Linked DNA regions of Homo sapiens: all the other regions are linked to region 1. The links are contacts of gene promoters, found by promoter capture Hi-C in blood cells and fetal thymus (Javierre and others, 2016). All regions are on one chromosome and are shown on one strand. Each heading gives the region's core, a stretch centred on a gene start or on the middle of the fragment in contact. The rest is flanking DNA. Distances are from core to core; before and after follow the strand shown. Region 1 holds the start of DSG1 (desmoglein 1). Region 2 overlaps DSC3 (desmocollin 3). Region 3 overlaps DSC3 (desmocollin 3).

Region 1 (2,860 bases), core at 101-2,600:
GGACTAATGTTTGAAGGAAAGCTTGGAACCAAAGCCACCAGCTTACTGATGCTCATTTATAACTAAATCCACTGATTATGTCCCGCCTTAGTTAATAAAACTGAATTCAAACTAACCAGCATACTTTGAATCAAAGATCTAACTTATTATACCAACCAACCCAACATTCCAGTTCAAAAATTAAGCAAGTAGAAACAAATGTGAACCACAGCACTATACATCCTGCCAAGCTGGAGGGCAATTTACTTGGCACCTGCCTTTTTGAATTACATTAACCTTACTATGAGAGAGATTACAATTTTCAAATTTTCACTGAAAGTGAAATTGACATAATACATTAGTGGTGCACTTAGTATTATCTCTACAGCAAGAAAACTAATTACATGTAAGGGGGCAATGATAAAGTATTTCATTACATTCGTCAGACGATCAAGTGCACAACTTTTATATCGCAGTCATCACTGACATTCCAGTAGTAAGATCGAGTGTAATAATAATTATACTTACTCTTTAATTATAGCCACTTCTTCACTTAATATGTCATTTATAAACCTCCTGTACTGCCGTTTTTTGAAATTAAAAATGTTTTAAATAAAATCATAGTTAAATAGTGCGGGGCTTTTTATAGTAGTGATACAGATTCTAACCAAATATGCAACTGATGACTTTATTTGGATAGCGAGACCAGCCACAAACTGCTACGATTTTAAATTATGTGGTGCTATTTTTATGTTTTAAAAATTAGAGTAATTCCACCACCAAACACACAAAAAAAATAAAAAAAAAAACAGGTTAAAAATCCAGACACACTTGTGATATTTAGTTTAAAAGCCCTCTTGCAGAAGAGATTTTGAACGACAAAGTGCTACTAACTAGCGATAGGAATTTCCTAAATTCAGTCTTTTCCCAGCATGACTTAGCAATGACTTCAGTGTCAGAGATGTAATACAATGAGTTGACACTGAGGCATTAACATGATCTTGAGTCTTCAATTAAAGAGAGAAATGCTATTGAAAAATCTAGTTCATAAAATCATCTTGTCATTAATATACATTTTCAATGGGTTTAGGTTAGAAATAATGCCCACTAACATTTTCTAAAAAGTTTTCACTTGTTTACAATGGGCACGATTATGAAGGACTTTTACCAGAATCCACTCACCAGAAAAATGAACAGCATTGCAACTACTCTGAAGAAACTCCAGTCCATCTCTGCTGGATTCTCTTACATCCAAGACCAAGGGAGTTTTGTTTGTTCTTCTCTGTTCTTTTTCTTTCTCCCACTCAGCTGGTGTCTGATTAAAATAATTTCTCAGTAGATGTTCTTACATGCAGGCTTTGAGGTGTTTCTGCCTTCCTCTGGGAGAAGGACTGAAGGTACGTATAACCAGTCTGGATCCCCACCCTAAAAACTTGGGCTGGTCTCACTGAAATGCTTGACAAGATCATCATTGCTCCCAGGTAAAAACTTGGGGACACACCCTTCCTCCAGCTGAAAAGCGACTCTTGATGGGGCAAGGAAGATTCACTCCTTTACTGAATGTTTTCAGTGGCAGGCTCTTAAAGTGAACAGAAATACCGAGGGTTATACAGGTGATGGGGGCTTCTCACCCCATGCTTTCTTTACAGGTGGTTTAGTTTCTCCCCATATTAAACAGGCAGGTATAACTTGAATGCTCATCTTATTCATTCCATTATCTGTTTGTAGCCAAACCCTCAGGTCATAGTAGAAAATGACAAACTTTCCATTTTAGTAGATGTTGGGAAAGTTTCAGTTATTTTCGGTTGTTAAGAGACAGAAAATATGCTAATGCAAGACTGAGATTTTTTAAAGTTATTAATTCAAACAAGTAAAACCATGATACTTACAATTATTAGATCCTCTGCATAAGTCACAATTCCCATTAACTGACCAGCCTTCAGTCTAAGGAATCCTCCATTTTCCCTCTAAAGAAATTATTTTCTCTCCCTAATTATTTTTCTTTCTTTATGATTCTTTTATTAAATGCAACAAAATAAAAATTTAAATATTACTAAACTTAAGGGTGAATAGTGAGAACCACCAATTAAAATCCTGATAATAACTTTAAAAATGAGATTCGGTGCCTGAAATACTAATGAAAACACAGAAAGCTGCTCAGCAGGTGAGGTGGGTTAAAAGTCAATGACAATTCCTAAGCACAGAGCCAAGAATCTGTACAGCGAGCCAATTAGAACATAGGGAATACACTGAAGAAATGGCTGCCTACACAGGTAGACGGGAAACTGAATGCAGCCCTGAGGTTTGTGAAAATAAATAGCAACCTTCACAGGGCAGCATTTGGACATATTTTTGGACTCTCTTCTCTTCCCCTGGCAACGTCTAGTATAAATATTGTGAGTGGCAGGAAGCTCATAGACACTGGACACCCTCAGAGTTTGAAACGGCTACTTAGAACAAGAGACCTACCTGATAAGATGTTGATTATGGTCAAAAAGATACTCAAAATGTCTCCAAAAGGAAGAAAATCTCTGAGGGTCAGAGGGTCTATAGAAGGCTGTCATTTCACTACAGATTTGTGGCAAAGAAGATGTGTGGTTTGAATTTCCATATTATCCATCATACAGTGTGGAGGGGAGGAGATAGGCTGCCCATGTTTATTTGCAGTGAATAAGAATGTTTATGATTGTAAATAGCAGATGTAAATAAATAAAATTTAGAAAGATGAGCTGGCCGATTTTCTCTAATGAGAAATGTCAAATAAAATAGACTGTATTAACCTATGACTTAGTCTGAGCAATATATTAGTATCATGTTGTCTGACCATGAATAGCAGAAGACTCACTGGGCACCAGAGACAACTGCACCTACTCTTGCAGCT
Region 2 (2,860 bases), core at 268-2,767, 330 kb after region 1:
CTTTTTAGGGAAATAAAGTTTGTGCATATATATAATCCCGAAACATGATTTCCAGACAATGGAATTGATAATTTATTCTTTCTGTGTTGATTTTTTCACAATGAACATTGATAACACTTATTTTATTTTAAGTTCCAGGATACACGTGCAGGATGTGCAGGTTTGTTACATAGGTAAACGTGTCCCATGGTGGTTTGCTGCACCTATCAACCTGATAACATTTTTAATTTAAGAAAAAGGTTAATACCAGCTTAGACAGTTTATTTTGGCTCTTATATTATTTAGAATTAGGCTTGGTTTCATGGGCAGAAAAATTAAATAGTATTCAGAACATGTTTACGGGCTTCTGTATTCGACAGTTTATTTTGATTGCAAAGGTTTGAATCTCAGAACCTTCTTTTCCCTTTACTTAAAAAATGGTAAAATTCATAAAACATGGCTATGAATGGTTAAAATTCATCATTTTCACCATTTTAAAGTGTATAATTCAGTGACTTTAGTACATTTAAAATGTTGTGAAACTGTTACCACTATCTAGTTCTGGAACATTTTCATCACCCCAAGAGGAAACCTTTTAAGCAGTCATTCTCCTCTTCCCCTCCCTGCATTATCCCCTGGCAACCACTGATATCTTTTCTGTCTCTATGGATTTGCCTACTCTGGACATTCATATAAATGAAATCGTACATATGTGGCCTTGTGTGTCTGGCTTCTTTCACTGAAATGAGGACTTTTCATGCATCCCTTTACTTGGGAATGAAATCCTAGAATATCTGAAAGGACTTGTTCAGGCTTTACTCAGAAACAAATATGATTATCAGTCTTCTATCAAATTCAAAATGAGTATTTTTAAAAGGAACATCAAATGAGATAAAGCAAAAATAGATCTGATAATAAGTATAACAGTATGTACAAATACTTGTTATCTGTGGAAGCATCATATCTTCTTGGCAAAAATTTACAGCTATAAAAATTGGCTAGCATAAATGGTCACAAAGAAAACTGACAATGCAAATACTATAAATGGTTTAATTTTATATAAGGGGCCAATTAATCAAATGATTCAATTTTTATTGTAAAATATAAGCAGAAAGTAATTCCTATTAAAATAATTTTAATGAAATAATTTTAAAAATTAGTTTAACTTTGCTTTGGAAAAATTAAAATTGTTTAATTTTATTTAAGCTGGAAAATACCTTCTGGATAAAAATTTATAAATCCAAGCATAATTCTACTATACTCAAAAGGGTAAAACCTTCTAAAAATTTGAAACGAGTTGAAAATCTGTTGTTGTTCAGATCTGAACTGTCTAAATGGATCCATGTTTCTGTCAAACTGCTCTATGCGTTAGTCAGCATGCTGTCTAAAATAGAATCCATTCTGGAGGGTAATGTCTGCTGAAAATAACATGCTACATTCCTGTGCCAGAACACGTTCTGCGTAACACCACTGAACATCTTTAGGGAGTCCTTGCCTAGACTTTTTATATTCATGATTGAGAGTGGCTTGCACTAAAATACTAGCCTCTGCTCTAAAATAAATTCACCAAAAAAGTAGCAGCATCAAATCTACTTAAAAATGATCACATTTGCCTCTATATAAGATGTTCTTTCTCCCAGACTGTGCTTTGTTGAGTTTCAAGAGACCCTCCCCAGGAGCTTCTGTCCCTGTCTGTTGGCTGCGCAACATTTTACCTTCCAGAGAACAGACAGACCACAGGATTTAGTATGGGCACCTGGGAAGATGGGGAAGAAATTAGTTTTTCTCCCCAAAAGCATGAGATTGTAATACACACAAACATTCTGTAACACTTTTTTTTCTTTTCTGGTGTTTGATTTGTTCTTATTGCCCAGCTCCCATCCCATTTAAGCAACTTTGCCTCTCAGTGCTTCTTAGCTACTATGTAAGTAAACCATAAAATTAACATGGAAACTCCTGGTCTGAAACTCCCAGGTGACCATGACTGGAGTAAGAGCTGCCTCAGTGACCACCTGTGCAAGTTTATGACCAAACACCAGATGGTCATACCCAGAACTCTTACTACCCCACAGGAGTAGGCAAAATTTACACTCAGCCTCAGAAACATTGGGGTGAAAAAATCCCAAAAGACTGAGATTTATCTCTACTACTTTGGTTCAGTTAGGACTCTAAATAGAAACTGACCAACAGAAAAATAAGAGAAGTTAATTTCTGGAACATAGGAGAAGTGAACTGAGATTCTTAGCCACTAGTCAAACAAAAAAAACAACTGGAAATTAATGAAAGAGAGGCAAGAAACATTTCCTTTTGAGATAAACTGGTTTGCACTTTTCGTTTTTTTTTTTTGGAGGGGGTGGGTTACGTAAGTTCCACGTGAGTCCTCCAGGTGTTCTGCCTTTGCCTCTGGGCACCAGTGTGCATGGCTCCTTTTCAAGTATCTACAAGAAAGTGGGGGACACACCCTTCAGTGACTCAGACCTCTCCCACGCCCATGAACAAACAGGAATAGACACTTGGGGCTGGACAGACTCATTGACAGTGCCAGGACTGTTACTAAAGACAACTTCAAAGAGAAAAGGATCTTCAGAAACCAATTTGAAGAAAGCTACAGCTGCTACTTAGCCGTTCAAGAATATTTCTCTGCCTCCCATGCACAATGCAACCATAGTGGGAGGAATATACGCACTATGAACACTATAAACCAGTGTTTTTTATTGGCTCAAACTAATAGATGCAATATGATTCCACAAGGGGTCTGAGTATTTTGCTACTGAATTCTCACATAATTTATATTGATTTTATTGTTTTATTTTCCGAATACCTTAAGGTAAATGTGCATTGTGCAATACAAATGTGTAATTTATTTTATTAAAAGATAGAT
Region 3 (2,860 bases), core at 120-2,619, 310 kb after region 1:
AGTGCAGCAGCTGTTCTCTAAATTTCCATCCATTTCTCATTGCCAGCAGTTGCTCTTACTCTCTGTGTGATCACACCAGCACATGAAATGTGTGAAACAGTATTCATCAGCATCAAACGAACAGATATTAATATTTTTTTCCTTGACTCTCCAGTTTGTGGGATATACATACAAAATAAAAAAAGGTTTTACATATGTTTTGTAGATTCTAAGATTCAGAAACTTTCTTGACTTTTTAGTGGACTCGTGATACTAATGTCTTACTCTGTTAATACCTAGGTGTGGAGAAAGATTTAAAATAATTTTATTCACCAGTTTTGATTTTGTTCAATGTTTAGCCAGTGATTGTTTTGATAAGCAGAAAGAGAAATTGAAGAAAAAGTGCTTCAACTTTATAGTACAGTGTAACATAATGTTTTATGGGTTTTACTTGATTTGTTATCTAAAACTGAATTTTAGTCAAAGATTGATTTGGAAATTTTTTAGAGATCAGTGAGCCAATTAAGCAGCACACGATAGCAGAGGGATTATAGCGTAGGCTAAGGAAATGGACTCAGGTCAGACTACCTGGCTTCAAATTCAAGCTCAAATGATTATCTTTTGGTCTTAAAAAAAAATCAGTTTATCTCCTTTTCCCGTTTTCTGCTCTGTAAAATGAGGATGAGGTCAATAATACTTACTTCATAATGTCATGAGGATTTAGTGAGTTTATTTTCACTGTTAGAGTAGTGCCTTAGATTCAATGATAATTAAAATCAATCACATAGTATTTCCCTTACTCCTCTGTGTATCCACTGTGAATGTTTCATTGGATAAATTATAGACAATGCCAAAGTATAATTCTCAAGTTTTCAAAAATGTAATTTTCATAAAAACAGGTAGTGGGCATGGATGGATAAAGGTTTTAACTCATTCATGAAGGAACCAGCAAAAAGACAAGTTGATTCCTAAGAAGAAATGAGACTCTGGATGGATTTTGATAAAAGAAAAGCAGCAATTAGATGGCTCAGTTAGATGCCTTAGAGGGCAATTAAAACACACATTTGGGGCCGGGCATGGTGGTTCACGCCTGTAATCCCAGCATTTAGGGATGCCAAGGGAGGTGGATCACCTGAGTTCAGGAGTTCGAGACCAGCCTAAGATGGCAGAACCCCATCTTTACTAAAGAAAAAAATACAAAAATTAGCTGATTATGGTGGCACGTGCCTGTAGTCCCAGCTACATGGGAGGCTGAGGCAGGAGAATCGCTTGAACCAAAGAGGCAGAGGTTGCAGTAAGCCAAGATTGCGCCACTGCTCTCCAGCCTGGGTGACAGAATGAGGCAAGACTCTGTCTCAAAAATAAAATAAAAGAAAATAAAATACTGGAGATATCTTTTCTATGAGACAGAAAATGAAATCATTGCACCTTTTGGTTTTGTGAAAGTCAACATCAAACTTTACAAGAGTTATAAAATGCCTGGGCCATAGTCAGTAGTAACTGATAAGCCAAATAAAGGCAACTTCCCATACTCAGATGACCGTTAGCCCAGCCTGTTAGACAGTGCTCCAAGCAGGACCATAAGAATACTGTCATCTGTTTGCATTACTTTTTGAATCAGAGTAATTTTCCTTAGTAAGAGTGAAATATGAAAATATTTCCGGAATTTCGTTTGTCCAACTCTATGAAACTACCTGCAGAAGTTGTTGGACCATTCTTGGTAGAGGCTTAGCACGGGATCCACTCTCTGTTTAGCAAGGGATAAAAGTCAGTATTAACAACATGTGAACATAGAATTTATGCAGCACTGGTCAGGATGACAAATGTTCACTTGCCATTTGAAATGCCAGATGTATTTTACACTGACACTGATATACATGGACTTTATTTTAAAGCCACTGAATTATGAAGAAAACCGTCAAGTGAACCTGGAAATTGGAGTAAACAATGAAGCGCCATTTGCTAGAGATATTCCCAGAGTGACAGCCTTGAACAGAGCCTTGGTTACAGTTCATGTGAGGGATCTGGATGAGGGGCCTGAATGCACTCCTGCAGCCCAATATGTGCGGATTAAAGAAAACTTAGCAGTGGGGTCAAAGATCAACGGCTATAAGGCATATGACCCCGAAAATAGAAATGGCAATGGTTTAAGGTAAAAATAAATCTATAACCACATACTAATAATGTATTTGTAATCATTGAGATAGTAACTTATTTGAAAACATTTTCTGATGCTAAAGACTATTTTTTTTTTATTAACAGGTACAAAAAATTGCATGATCCTAAAGGTTGGATCACCATTGATGAAATTTCAGGGTCAATCATAACTTCCAAAATCCTGGATAGGGAGGTTGAAACTCCCAAAAATGAGTTGTATAATATTACAGTCCTGGCAATAGACAAAGGTAAAAAAAAAGTTTTAATCTGGTATTCTATAAAGGAATTAGAGAATAAAATGTAATTATTCTTATGCAGATTTATTTTGGTGGTAAGTGTATGGAATTCTTTGAAATTACTTTAAAGACTCTTTCTGTCTCTCTTAATTATCTAACAAGGTGAAACTGTTTGGTGACAAGAAGCCGTGTTTTATTTATCTTTATATCCCCAATAGGGCAGGACCTTAAATTCTTATGTATTTCTATGCTAGAGGACAAAAATAAAACTGAAATCTAAAACTAGATAAAATGGTCTCATCAGACTCTTCCACATCCGTTTGTGTCACTTTAAATTGAGCTTTTATATAGTTCAGCTGCATATTAGGTCAAAATGATCCTTTTCTTGAATTCTGTTCCTTAAAGTAACCTAGAGTTTTTCAACCTTGTCTTCACATTAAAATAAAAATATTAATCTGTAGATACTTTGTTAGACTAACTGAATCAGA

The links. Contacts are between HindIII fragments. The CHiCAGO score rates a contact against its expected background, and 5 or more counts as called.
Region 2: a fragment that was not itself captured here is called in contact with the fragment with the promoter of DSG1 in region 1 in 1 of 17 cell types (monocytes); the score reaches 5.4 in monocytes.
Region 3: a contact is called between a fragment that was not itself captured here and the fragment with the promoter of DSG1 in region 1, in 1 of 17 cell types (monocytes). The highest score is 5.1, in monocytes.

What each region holds. Positions count from the first base shown.
Region 1 is chr18:31,316,650-31,319,509 of GRCh38, reverse strand. It overlaps DSG1 (desmoglein 1), which reads right to left and starts at 1,350. Exons shown (of 15, transcript NM_001942.4): 1 at 1,162-1,350. The coding sequence starts at 1,209. The HindIII fragment of the contact is 11,545 bases long and covers 24-2,860 here.
Region 2 is chr18:30,987,195-30,990,054 of GRCh38, reverse strand. DSC3 (desmocollin 3) reads left to right here. Exons shown (of 16, transcript NM_001941.5): 16 at 1-690. Among named protein-coding and RNA genes, the nearest start is that of DSC3, 54 kb to the left of the region's middle. The HindIII fragment of the contact is 5,568 bases long and covers 1-2,860 here.
Region 3 is chr18:31,007,540-31,010,399 of GRCh38, reverse strand. It overlaps DSC3 (desmocollin 3), which reads left to right. Exons shown (of 16, transcript NM_001941.5): 10 at 1,875-2,131; 11 at 2,242-2,384. Among named protein-coding and RNA genes, the nearest start is that of DSC3, 34 kb to the left of the region's middle. The HindIII fragment of the contact is 4,708 bases long and covers 1-2,860 here.